Regions from separate parts of the Homo sapiens genome. Here region 1 is linked to region 2. The links are contacts of gene promoters, found by promoter capture Hi-C in blood cells and fetal thymus (Javierre and others, 2016). All regions are on one chromosome and are shown on one strand. Each heading gives the region's core, a stretch centred on a gene start or on the middle of the fragment in contact. The rest is flanking DNA. Distances are from core to core; before and after follow the strand shown. Region 1 overlaps MYOM1 (myomesin 1). Region 2 holds the start of LPIN2 (lipin 2).

The links. The method cuts DNA at HindIII sites, captures the fragments that hold promoters and counts their contacts. A CHiCAGO score of 5 or more calls a contact.
Region 1: a fragment that was not itself captured here is called in contact with the fragment with the promoter of LPIN2 in region 2 in 9 of 17 cell types (naive CD8 T cells, naive CD4 T cells, total CD4 T cells and 6 more); the score reaches 16.3 in naive CD8 T cells.

Annotation. Positions count from the first base shown.
Region 1 is chr18:3,109,152-3,115,896 of GRCh38, reverse strand. MYOM1 (myomesin 1) reads left to right here. Exons shown (of 38, transcript NM_003803.4): 22 at 3,485-3,599. Among named protein-coding and RNA genes, the nearest start is that of LPIN2, 99 kb to the right of the region's middle. The HindIII fragment of the contact is 1,849 bases long and covers 3,862-5,710 here.
Region 2 is chr18:3,011,238-3,018,593 of GRCh38, reverse strand. It overlaps LPIN2 (lipin 2), which reads left to right and starts at 5,450. Exons shown (of 20, transcript NM_001375808.2): 1 at 5,450-5,507. RefSeq lists a silencer at 5,060-6,009. The HindIII fragment of the contact is 8,581 bases long and covers 2,963-7,356 here.

The DNA of each region.
Region 1 (6,745 bases), core at 3,537-6,036, 98 kb before region 2:
CCTGTCTCACGTTACCTCCTCCCTCAGGCCGGTTCTCACATGAGCTCTCAGAGATTAGTGGAACAGGTTCACTCAACCCCCTTATCCATGTCACTGCCTTTCAGGTTCCTCTAGAGTGTGCTCATTGAACCATTTCCTAACTCTGTTGGCCAAAGACTGTTCTGCCATAGCCACCAAATCTCTCATTTGTAGCAAAAGGAAATTTCGAAAGAATATTTTCCGCTAGTGTTAGCAGTGGCACCTGGAGACCCTGATGCCCCAGCGGGGCCTCAGAAACTGTAGGGAATATGATTGCATTACTTACTACTTAGAATGAAATGTGACTGACTTCACCACAGTCACTCAGGAAGTTACACACTGCGTTTGCACAGTCCTATCTTTTGGCAGAAGAGGTCATTGCCTATAAGGTGGGCTTTGGAAGATACTCAAAGTATACCTGGCCAAAAAGATCTCTCCCTGACCTGCCTCATGAACTAAGTCCCTTCCATCTATCAGCCACTCTCCAGGGTTAGGGTATTTCCAGCCACTCTAAACTATGTAAATATATCCTCCAGGAGATACAGCCCATAAACCATTATACCCAACTTGCCATTAACTCAACTTAGCATATGCCAATCAGCTCTCCAGCTTCTTGCAAAACTCTGAAGAAATAAGACAGGTCATCTTTTCATGAGGAAGAGAAAAGTTCAAGGAAGGACTGAAGCCTATGATGTTGTTTGCTGTCAAGATGAGTCCAGAGGTCCCTGGATTCCGAGAAACCCCCAAAGTACAGTGTAAAATAAAGGTCAGGAACATCCTAGATGATGGTGGTGGGTGTATATGGCTGGGATGAAGATTTCCAAGTCTTCAGTCTGCCACTGTAGAGGATGCCAAGGGCCTGAGGTTTGAACTGACTAGGGTGAAGCGAAACAAAGGTGAAGAAGCAAACAAAAAGAAAAAAAAAAGTAGAGTTTAAATGTGTGAAAGAATGGTTAATGTCACTCATTTTTAAAAAGAAAAAGAATAACGGGAATTTTAACAGAGAGACAGAGAGAGAAAGAGAGACTGAGGTTAAGTATACCTAACAAACCTGGAAGTGAACTTCCGTAAGGAGAGTTCTTACATTTTATCAACAGTTTTTATAAAGTGAAAATAATCTTTTTTTATTTTTCTGATTATAAAACTAACAATTTAAATGAAAAATTCAAACATAAGAAGCACAAAGAAGAAAGTAGGCCAGGCACGGTGACTCATGCCTATAATCCCAGGGCTTTGGGAGGCCAAGGCAGGCAAATCACTTGAGCCCAGGAGTTCAAGACCATGGGAAACATGGCAAAACCCTGTCTCTAAAAAAAAAAAAAAAAAAAAAAAAATTAGCTGACCATGGTGGCATGTGCCTGTATTCCCAGCTACTCAGGAGGCTGAGATGGGAGGATTGCTTGAACCAGGGAGGCGGAAGCTGCAGTGAGCTGTGATTGCACCACTGCACTCCAGCCCGGGCAACAGAACGAGACTCTGTCTCGAAAAAAAAAAAAAAGGGAAAATAGATCTGCATCGATGATCTCGATTACGTATTTGTGGTACTGTTGAGGCCAGTGGTCATTGCCCCTGTGGTGATGGAAGAGCAGAGAGTGCCCCTGTCACCCCAGGGACCAGACACTGGAATATGAACAGACTTCCTGTACATGTTGCAGAAATCTGACTCACAGCCATACATCATCACCTAGGTGGCAGGTGCAGATGTGTCAGGTACCTGGCGATTACTCTATTTTTATTACACGGAAATGTTTCTGTGTTCTTCTGGAAATCCACAGTTTCCTGGCATTATTTCTAAACATAGAATTTAAATATGTCAGGCTCTATACATTTAACCTATAACTAAGTTAAAGTTCATTTACAGAATAAAATCCATTTCAAAAATCCGTTAGTGCCAGTGAGGGCTATTACTACATAAATAGTGACATTCTGCTGTAAACAAATACAATTAGTTAGATTAAAAACCTAACAATTTAATACGTACCTCATTTAAATACATGGTCACAAACACTTCACATAATTGAATAACTTTATTCCAACATTGTTTGATTTAAATCACATTTTGGATATTGGTCTCTATCACATCTTGGGGAAAAATTATGCCCTCTGTGTAATAAATTCCTTCTTATAACATAGCTTTTAAAAGTCACATGTTTTTAAAATAAAAATGTTGATAAAACATTAACAGTATTGGTAATAGTAATGAGATTATTCAAAACCCAAAGAAAGTTACAAAAAATTAAGTAGGAAACCAGGCATGGTGGCTCACTCCTGTAATCCCAACACTGTGGGAGGCTGAGGTGGGAAAATTGCTTGAGCCCAGGAGTTTGAGACCAGCCTGGGCAACATGGAGAAATCCCGTATCTATAAAAAAAATTGTTTTTAGGTAGCCTGGTGTGCTGGCACATGTCTGTGGTCCCAACTATTCAAGAGGCTGAGGCAGGAGGATTGCTTGATCCCAGGAGGTCCAGGCTACAGTGAGCTGAGATTGTGCCACTGTACTCCGCCTGAGCAACAGAGTGAAACTCTGTCTCAGAAATACATACATATATATATATATATATATATATATATATATATATAGACACAAACACATACACACATATATATACATACACATATACACACATAGATGTGTGTGTATATATATATACATGTGTGTATATATATATACATGTGTGTATATATGTATGTGTGTGTATATATACATGAAGTGGGACTGTCATACAAAAATAAATTATAAATGCTTTTTTTTTACAGCTCTTAGTAATTCTAGTTTAGTGGCACATATGTAGTGGATTCTCAGCACACATCTTGATCATTAAAAACTTGAGGATTTAGAATTTTAATACACTTTGGTTATTCACAAATTATTCAAACTCACAATTGTGTTAATTTCATGTCTATTTAGTAAGAAATAGCTATATTAAATTTACAGGAACAATTATTGTTTGTTTTGGTTTTAGTAGTTTAACATGCTTTTAAACAAATGGAAAGTGTTCATGATTCATGCTTTTAATTCTCCTCTTTTGCCAAGAATTCCATCTGAAATTATTCATGGAATGTCTCAAAAGGATTGGGGGGAAAAGCGACATATATGCTATAATGAGCACTTTGTATTTTGTCCTTTTGACCAAAGAATACAGTGGCTAACGCATGTGACACCTACGTACACTAGTCTCTGTTTCTGATGTTGGTGGCCACTAAATTAACTAAAAAGGAGAAACATCAAAGTGAGAATGGATATTGGAAACTCCTCTCTATCTACAGATGGTCTAGAGAGAAGACCATCTACAGCTAAAGTCACCTGCGTAGTGTTTGACAGAATCAAATCTAGACCACAAGTCTTGTATCCCTGGTGCTAGGTCACTAAATCATTACTACAGAGGAAGAGCCCCGTCTGTTTAAATGACATAAAACAGCCACTGCTTCATCAAACACCCATTGCTTCTACACCTGCTTCTACCAGGTTCGAGGCCTCAAGGAGGGCGTCAGCTACGTGTTCCGTGTTCGAGCCATAAACCAGGCGGGAGTTGGGAAGCCATCTGACCTTGCTGGCCCTGTTGTGGCAGAGACCCGTCCAGGTGGGCTTTCACCTTTTCATTAAAACTAATCCTATCTGTGTAAGATACTGAACTAAGGTTCGGCCTTTCTGTGCTTTCCTCTAATTTTCAAAACAATCAATGTGTGCTATCTGAATATAATTGATAAGTAATGATCTTAGAACATGACAGTCATTGGTCCCATCACAGGCACCTCAGGACAGGGTTGAGCCAGGTTTGACGTGGTCTAGGGGCTGTTCTGATGCATACCTAAAAACCCGGAAGTTCTTGATCAAGTTAAGCTTCCCGGACCAACTGTTCCAAGCATTCATTCCTGGAATGTTATTCCTATTACACCCTGGCCATTAAGTCTCATAAGAATATTTTCCCAATCATAGGGGAAGCTAGAACAGCCCAGCTAGTGGGCACAATCCTTAAACGAAAGTAGGATTTATGTAATTGTAGCTATTATGTTTAAACCAGAGGTCAGCAAACTTTTTCTGTGGAGGGCCAGATAATATTTATCACTCAACAGCCCTGTGGTCTCTGTCACAACTTCTTAACTCTGCCATGACACAAAAGAAGCCATTGAGGATACATAAACTAATGAGCATGGCTGTGTTCTAATAAAACTTTATCATGCACATTATATGTATTATATAATGTGATGCGTTATATGCATTATAAAATTTCAATCTTGTATAATTTTCCTGTGTTTTGAAATAGTAATCTTCTTTCAATTTTTTCAACTATTTAAAAATATAAAAACCATTCTTAGCTTGCAGCCCTTGCAAAAAGAGGTAATGGGCCAGATTTAGCCCACAGGCCATAGTTTGCTGACCCCTGGGCTAAACTAACAGTGGTCCCAACTGAATGGTTTATAGATTCGAGGCAGCCCTCATTTCCCAGTTTCAAAGATGCCGTGATTACTAGAGAAGACAGACTTGCCGTTTCTTATGAGAACAGAGTTTACTGTGTTCATTGTCCAACGAGTTTCAGATCATTACATAATAATTTCTTTTATCATTTAACCTGTATTATTTTTCAACGTTATCATATATTTCAGTTCATTAAAGTTACATAAAGGAAAGCACCGGAGGCCAGGCACTGTGGCTCATGTCTGTAATCCCAACACTTTGGGCAGCTGAGGCTGGAGGAACCTAGGAATTCGAGAGCAGCCTGGGCAACTTGGCAGAACCCCACCTCTACCAAATTTTTAAATTAGCTGGATGTGGTGGTGAGTGCCTGTAATCCTAGCTGCTCGGGAGGCTGAGGCAGGAAAATCGCGTGAACCCAGGAGGCAGAGGTTGCAGTGAGCTGAGATTGTGCCATTGCACTCCATCCCAGGCGACAGTGAGAGACTCCATCCCAAAAAAAGAAAGAAAATTTAAAAAAGAAAACTGCACTTGTATTTGCTTGCTAACTGATCTCTTTCATCTGCTAGAACCGTAGTTTTCAATCTTGCCTGTACATTAGAATCATACGAGGACTGTTTTGAAAATACTGCTATCTGGACTCAACTCCAGACCAATTAAATCAGGATCTTTAGGGCTGATGGGATGATGACAGAAGATCAGATATTCTAAAAAAAAAAAAAAAGAAAAAAAAGAATCTCTTAGGCTGGGTACCTGAACATAGGCTTATTGCTGTTTGTTTGTTTACTTAGCAATTTGGGTAATTCCAGTGTGAAAACAGGCTTGTGAACTGTACTTTAGACCATAGCTCCTCAAAATAGGAACTGTGTCTTTTCTGTACATGTGCTGAGAGTCTAACATAGTACCAGGTATATAATAGCTAATTTATTAAATGAAAAAATAATGAATGACTAGCATGTTTGCCAGTGAGTGTGACACTGTCTTGAAGCCTCAGTGTGTGCACTTCACCCCAGTCGTCTTGTACTGCCTGCCCTGGTTATGATGGGTGAGCTGGGGAAGAAATGTCTGGTGGAGGCTCCAAGGTGGGCATGAGGCTGAATGGTCAGCCGCCAGTCCTCGTCTGAAACCCAGGGCAGCTCAGTACTACACGTGACCCATTACATTAACTCACTTTCCTCTGCTTCTATTCTGTCCCATGCTTCAGTTTTTTAAACATCACCACACACACACGCACACCCCCACGCACACCCACAGCATGGAGAACAAATAATTAAAGCTTATAAAAGTGATATATTCATGCTCATGTAAAACACTTTATATGAGAAAGAATTATCATATCAGATTACAAAATGTATAGGAACGTGAACAGTTTACTGTGATTTTATTTAAGCTTTTAAATTTTATCCTTTATTATCATTTTTTGTGGGGAAGAGAAAGAAAAGTGGGATGAAATGAGTTAATTTCCAAATAGTTCATTTTAGTCCTGAGCCACACTTGAACCCATTAGGATACCAGGAGTTCTGGGCAAGCCTTGGAGGGATCATTGGAATGCTGTCTTGGCCCTGTAATCCCAACACTTTGGGAGTCCAGATAGGAGGATCACTTGAGCCCAGGAGTTGGAGACCACCCTGAGCAACATAGTGGGACCTGTCTCTATTAGAAAAGAATAGGAAAGAAAAAATAATAATAATAGTAATGTAAAATGAGATCTGTTAAAATCAGTTATCTCTGTGTCTGTATTAAGGATTCGCTTAGGTTGAGGAGTTGACTAGTGACAACTCTTCTTAAATCCTTTTTAGGCAACAACGACAACAACTCTCTCATGTTCTATACATAAACCTCCTGAGATCTTAGTTAAGTTCTTCACATTCATGAGCAGGTTAAGAGGTTGTTTCTGAGAAAATCTAAGTTATGCCAAATTTTGGTCCACTTTTCCAGCCCAACTTTGTGGGAAAGTGGGATGGCCTCTCATCTGGATAAGAATACCACAAAGACCACTTTACTTTGATAGCAGAACATCAAACTTGCTTCCTGCCCATTAATTATCAGAACCACATCCCTCAATCAACTTGAGAGAATATGCCTCTTTAGGCATTTCTCAGAGTTCAACCATAATTAATTGATAGGAGCTCAGCTCTGGAAAACCTCAGCTAAGTTGTGGGATATTCTAAAGAGAAAATTTGGCTAGGTACGGTGATTCACGCCTGTAATCCCAGCACTTTGGGAGGCCAAGGCGGGCGGATTACCTGAGGTCAGGGGTTCGAGACTAGCCTGGCCAACATGGTGAAACCCCATCTCTACTAAAAATACAAA
Region 2 (7,356 bases), core at 4,201-6,700:
ATCTTCCCGAGTAGCTGGGACTACAGGCACACGCTACCACAGCCAGCTAATTTATTACATTTTTAGTAGAGATGAGGTCTCTCTATGTTGCTCAGGCTGGTCTCAAACTCCTGAGCTCAAGCAATCCTCCCAAGCTCAAGCTATCTTCCTGATTTGGTTTCCTGAAGTGCTGGGATTACAGTTGTGAGCCACTGCGTCTGGCCAATGCATTCAAAATTTTCAGATTTGTTAAGACTTGCTTTATTTATTTTATTTATTTATTTATTTAGTTTTTGAGATGAAGTCTAGCTCTGTTGCTCAGGCTGGAGTGCAGTGGCCCCATCTTGGCTCACTGCCTCTGTGTCTTGGGTTCAAGTGATTCTCCTACCTCAGCCTCCTGAGTAGCTGGGACTACAGTTGTGCGCCACCACACCTGGCTAATTTTTGTGTTTTTAGTAGAGACGGGTTTCACCATGTTGGCCAGGCTAGCCTCGAACTCCTGACCTCAAGTGATCGGCCTGTCTCGGCCTCCCAAAGTGCTGGGATTACAGGTGTGAGCCACTGCACCCGGCCTATATGTGTTTTATATGTTCATATGTTACCAGCTTTAGTGAGGTTTCTGGGTCGGCTTGAGAAGTAATTTTTTTTCTTATTCTACTATTTTGCTTTTGCAATTCTGTATTTATTGGGTCTTCTATTAATCTCCCTACTTAAAGTACATGCTAACCTTTACTTCTGCTGCACAAAACTCCCAAGGCTTCAAAAATCAACGTTCAAACTCACTAGATTCAGCAAAAATCCTCCAGGCATATGCTGACTTTGGGCTCGGCTTACCTCTCTGGGTTCTGACCTTCACCCTGTCCTGGGGCAATTTCTTAATTTCTTGCCAGTTTATAGATGCCTTCCAGAATATATTTTTATTATTTTGCCCAGTATTTTTGTTTTTGTTTTCAGTGAGGGAAAGTTGGTCTAGACACCCAGCTGAGCCTATCAGATGAAATAGAAATCTTCACTTATTTTTCATCACGTATTTACTCAGCACCTACTATGTGTATAATAAGTACTATAATTGTGATCTGTGCAAGGTGGACTAGAGGCATAAGAAAAAATACATCGACTGGGGTAGGGCAGTAGGGCAATTGAGGGAAGGTGGTGGGAGGTAGTTAAAAATACAGGTTTATGCTGGGCCTGGTGGCTCATGCCTGTAATCCCAGCACTTTGGGAGGCTGAGGTGGGCGGATCATTTGAGGCCAGTATTTCGAGACCAGCCTGGGCAACATGGCAAAACCCCATCTCTACTAAAAATAAATTAAAAAAAATAGTTTTGGTTCATTCATTTGATGGCTAAATAATAACTTTTTTAGAAAGAGAAGAAAAAAATATGGGTTTAGGAGTCAAGGAGGGCTGGAGGCAAATTCTATCAACACTGCTGACGAGTTGTGAGATCTGAGGCAAGTTACCCAACATCTCTGTGCCGTAGTTCCTTCCTCTGTAAACTGGTGTTAATGATAGAAGTTGAATTACTAGAAGAGCTGGGCACACAGTGATGGTACAGAAAATGCTAGCTATTCTCTGTCCTCACAGAGAAAGAGATGCAGAAGCTGGGAATAACAAAGCTATTTTTCTAAGGTTGAATCACCTCCCCTGGGAGCTGCCAGACAGGAGGGCATAGGACCACCTCCTTCCAACTCCAGGTCGGGGATACTTGATTCTTATTCTAGAGAAAATCCTTCTCTGCTTTCCAGATTCCCTCAAAGATATGCCTTCTCCCTGGCCCTCTCCCCCTTGACTGAGACAGGTTCCTCACTGAGCATAGTGTTTTGGAAATAAAAGACAGGAAGGAAATGTCTTGCAGACAACTTCTGCTTTCCACTCTGCCAACAACCTCCTGAGACAAGCAGAATGCCTGGGTGCATTCTTATAAGGAGAAGAAGAAAGAGAGAACTCTAAGGAAAAACACAGAAGTTAATATATGAAAAATTATTCTTACCAGCTACTGTGGCTCAAGCCTGTAATTCCAGTACTTTGGGTGGCTAAGGTGGGAGGCTCGATTGAGCCCAGGAGTTTGAGGTTGCAGTGAACCGTGATCACACCACTTCACTTTGGCCTGAACAACAGAGTGAGACCCTGTCTCCAAAAAAAAAAAAAAAATCCTGTTGCAAAAGGGATGATGGAATGGCTGAAGCATACAGACTAGAAGGAGCAGGAGAGAAAATTAGAGAGAAAAGGAGCACACTGGATGCCACGCTAGGGAACTTGGCTTGCTTCGTCAAGACAATGGGTTGCCAACCACCTGTGCCATGGCCAGGTCTGCAATTCAGAGTAGAGGATGCTTAGAATTGGGCAGGACTAGAGGGTAGGGAGACCAGCTGGCATATTCCTACAATGGACCACAAGAGAAATGGCGAGGGCCTAATCACAAGCAGGGGTGAGTGGTGCGACAGAGGACCAAGAGTAGGAATCATGAGGAGGAATAATGAGGAGGAGTGATGGAAACAGCATGGGAGTAGAGGGAAATGAGACTCCCTCCTAGGTTTCTGGCAAGTATGTCTAAACAGATGACAGCGCCATCAGCCAGGATAGGAGATTCAGGTGGAGCAGGTTTGAAGAAGCACAAATAATGGGTTTGAATCTGACATCACTGTGGACCTTGCTGGTTGAGACGTTGAAAGCCACTGAGCACAGGCATGTAGAATTCAGAGGAGTTCCCACTAATGAGGGGAGGAGAGAGTTTCAAGAAGGAAATAATGATCAACAGCATCTTGCCCTGCAGAGATCATGAGGCATGGGACAGGAAAGGGGTCTGTTTTCTTCGGCAACCAGAAGGTCATAGTGACTTTAGCCTGAGCAGTTTCAGGGTTAGAGGAGGAGCAACCCTGTGAAGATGGGAGAAAACCTGAAACTCTTTCAGGTAGCTTGGGTGGGAAGAGAAGCTGTGTGATAAGTCGACAGCCTGAGGGGGAACGGAGGGGCCACAAAAGCTTCTTTTTCAAGTGCAGGAATGAAGCCAGAATTGAGGAAGAGGGGACAATTAGTGGAGTGAGGTTCCTCACCTTGGAGCTGGAAGGTGGTGGGTCAGAGGCCAGTTGAAGGAAGCGCTTTCTTCCTCTGACACTCCAGTGGAGTAGGTGGACCTGGGGTGGCCCCTCCACACTTCCTAGGGCAGGAGGTGAAGGGATTTATCATGCAACAAACATTTAATGAGTCACCACTTAAGTGGTAGTGTAAGCTGGTGGACACGGGAAAATGAGGAAAATATTAGCAATATGAACCAATCGTTCTGAGTGAGGTCTCAAACGCAAGGTTGTTTGGAGGAAGGGAGGGGAGCTCTAGGGCTTCCTGAATGATGAAAGGAAGGAAGGGAGCTTGGCAGAATATTTCCCTCCCAAGGCAGAGATAGAGAAAATAGCCTGAGAGAAACAGGAAAAGTCTAAGTGGGAGAAATGGAAGAAAGGAAAGAAAATAAACGCTAACAGCCTGTTCCAGGTTGCAGACACTAACGTAGGCACTTTATAGGTTATCACGGGGAATCCACAAAACAATTCTGTAAGAAAGACACTACTATCTTTATTTTACTGACGTAGAAACTGAGGATTAAATTCTTTCTCTAGCTTTAATTTTTCTTCTCCATATTTATAAAATCCATTGAATACGGAGGGGGATATTTTAGTCCTCTTCAATTTTTATTTTACTTGTGAAGCCAAGTGAGAAGCAGTGAAATGAGGAAAATTCCTAGTGGTCTTGTGCCAGTGAAACTACCTATGTTTCTGTAGGGCCTTGATTACAGATGGGGCAAAACTTGATCGAGTTTCACAGAAAAGCAGAAGGAACTTCAGTGAAGAAGTGGTCGCCTGCTCCCTGAATCCAAGCACTGCCCAGCTACACCAGGCACTGGTGGGAAGAAACTGGGCTGCAGCTGGATCCTTCAAGGAGCAGCTTTGTGTATGCAAATGCCTATTTCAGTACCCTTAGAACTGTATAAATGATCACACACAAGATGCACCTCATAAATTAACTGCCATTTATATAGAAGTAACATAGGCTTCTGTTCATTACTTTCAATCATAGAATAGTAATAGAATAGGCTGCAAATTAAAAACCAGTGTGCACCAATAGTATATAGCACCAGCAATCCAGTTTTTTTTGTTTTTTTTTTTTTTGAGACAGAGTTTCGCTCCCAGGCTGGAGTGAAGTGGCGCAATCTCTGCTCACTGCAACCTCCGCCCCCCGGGTTCAAGTGATTCTACCGCCTCTGCCTCCTAAGTAGCTGGGATTGCAGCCAACATGCCCGGCTAATTTTTGTATTTTTAGTAGAGGCGGGGTTTTGCCACGTTGGCCAGGCTAGTCTCCAACTCCTGACCTCAGGCGATCGACCCGCCTTGGCCTCCCAAAGTGCTGGGATTACCGGCGTGAGCCACCGCGCCGGGCCCCATTTCTTTTCTTTCTGAGACGGAGTCTCTCTGTCGCCAGGCTGGAGTGCAATAGCGCCATCTCGGCTCACTGCAATCTCCGCCTCCCGGGTTCAACTGATTCTCCTGCCTCAGCCTCCTGAGAAGCTGGGATTACAGGCACGCGCCACCACGCCCGGCTGGTTTTTTGTATTTTTAGTAGAGACGGGGGTTTCACCATGTTGGCCAGGCTGGTCTTGAACTCCTGACCTCAAGTGATCCGCCTGCCTCGGCCTTCCAAAGTGCTAGGATTACAGGCGTGAGCCACCCATTTCTTAAAAAGTATATTTTAATGCTGGGGACGGTGGCTCATGCCTGTAATTCCAGTACTTTGGGAGGCCGAGGTGCGGGGATGCTTGAGCCCAGGAGTTGGAGACCAGCCGGGGTAACAGAGCGATAAAAAGAATAAACAAAAAACAACAGAACCCCGGCATATTTTTAAAAATGAGTTGTGTAATAGGATTTTTTTTTTTTCGGTGGAGATGTAAGTAAGCAAAGGAGATGTGCTACTAGTGATCAAAAGGGGATTATAAAACATTCATTCCCTAGACTTTTTTTGCACTTTAACATTCCTTTTTGGCAATTGGGCTCTCAGTCCCACGTGACCTGCCGCAGGGTTGCCATGGGGACCGGAAGAAACTTTTTTTTTTTAAAACAAAGTAAGGCTCCTGTCGCCCGAGGCACTAGAAAATCGAGGCCCCGCCCTCACTTGGCCAGGGGCCCGGGCGCGCAGCCCAGGGACTGGGAGCGGTGAGAAGCCGCACGCCTGGCGCTCGGCGGCGGGGGCGCGGCGCGCGGCCGGGAGCGCGCGTCACGTGGCTGGGGCGGGGCCTGCGCGCTGCCCGCCCGCCAGCTGCCGGCTCGGCCGCCGCAGCCGCGGCGTCCCATTCATGAGGGCCGCCCGACTCAGCTGCGGCCCAGGCGGCTTCCAAGGCAGCGGCGGCTGCGGGCGCTCCGACCCCGCGCGCGCCCCCGACCGGCCCCGCCCCCTCGGCTTCCCTCCCCGGCGGGTCCTAGCCGTCGCAGTCCAGCCGCCGCCTGCCCTCAGCCGCCCGCTGGCCGGGAGCGGAGCCCCTGTGGGTAAGTGGGCGCGGGCCGGGCTCCTCGCAGGCGTCCCTCCGGGGCTGGCGGTGAGTGTCTGCGCCTGGGGGCTTCCCTTGGCGCGGGCCCGGGGCTGTCCTGCCGGAGGCCGGGACCCTCCGGGGCGGCGCGGGTTGAGCCGCCCCTCCTCGCGCCGCGGTCCCCGCTTCCCGGTCCTCGCGTCCCAGTCCCCGCCTCGCCGCGACCGCGCCACGTAGACGCGGCCCCTACCGCCGCCGCCGCAGGACGGACCGGCGGGGTGCGCGGGGAGCCGGGGGCGTCGGGGCGTCAGTGGTGGCTGCTGAGGACTCTGAACCCGCGCAGTTCCCTCGCCGCCGCCCTGGGGATGGTTACCCGAGACCACCCCTACCCCTGGGTTTGGGGCGCGGAGGGGAGTGCGGAAGGCGCGCGGGAGGCCGCGTCTCCATCCCGCCCCCGGCCCTGCGGGAGGGGGCGCCGGGCACGTGATCTGCGGCGAGGCGGGGGCCGCCGAGTTGCTGGTGTTTCTTCCCCGCCGCGCTTTGCCCCGTACCTCCGCCTTCAAGCTGTGTGGACCGGATTCAAATGTGGTTAGTTTTCTCAAAGCCCCCCAGCCCCCGGTGCAGATCTTAATTTGTGAGGAACACGTTCAGATACAGTTTGTACTGAGAGCCTCTCTGTCCACTTCTAACGCCAGCGGATCACCATTTTCTCCACTCGCCTGAACATTTTAAGACTCTTTTCATTGAAAATTCAAGATGACATTTTTTAGGCATAATTATGCAAACCAGTACCAGAAAGATCACCCTTCCTTTCCGAAAAGTACTGGAACTCTGAATACTTGGAAATGCTTTGAAGGACTACTTAGTAAATGGCCAAACTAATTTTTAATGCACATTTGGGGCTTACCCATTTTTTTTTTAATTGAAAACGAGGCTCTAGACTTGGTGTCAAGGTAGGTCCTGTTGAATGAAGTTCTTTACCCAGTAGTGATGATGGGTGTTACTGTTTATTAAAACTTGGCCTGGCTAGATTATAATGTTTTGACAATACAAAGTCGGTTTTGAAATACATTTTGAAATATTTACGAATTATTTAGTGGCCCATACTGGTTTATGTTTTAACGGTCTGGTGTTGATCGTTCTTAGTGGCTTCAGATTGAGAAGAAGTGGCAGGTGATGCTGAAGCGGGGGAGAAGCGGCAGAGCCGGCCACACAGTGCAGGGGATGGAGACAGGTGCTGGGCTGGTCCTCCTGCAGCATCCTCAGTTGTTGGAGGGCAGTCATCCTCAGGCCGTACCCAGCCAGAGAAGAAAAAGAACAGTGTGAAGCCACGTGTGATAGCCGTCCAACATCGGCTCTTCCCTCCAATTACATTGTAGTTGATTGTGGTATGTCAGACTGAAGTATCTCTTTTATTTCGAGACAGAGTCTCACTCTGTCGCCCAGGCTGGAGTGTAGTTGCGCGATCTCCGATCACTGCAATCTCTGCCTCCTCTGTTAAAGCGATTCTTGTGCCCCAGCCTCCCGAGTAGCTGGGATTACAGGCATGAGCCACCACACTCAGCTAATTTTTGTATTTTTATTAGAGACCGGGGGTTTCACCATGTTGGCCAGGCTGGTCTCGAACTGCCGACCTCAGGTGATCCGCCCCCCTCGGCCTCCCAAAGAGCTGGGATTACAGGCGTGAGCAACCGCCCCAGCCAGACTTAAGGTATCTCCATGCCCAACTTTTGATAGAGGTAGCCATAGAAAGCTAGAAATGAAACGACAGGTTCTGTTTTAACGTTTGATGGCACAGTCGAGAGTCAATAGGCACGCATTATGCTTAAGAGAAGCTGGAAATGAAGTGTTTGAAAACCCTTTAATAC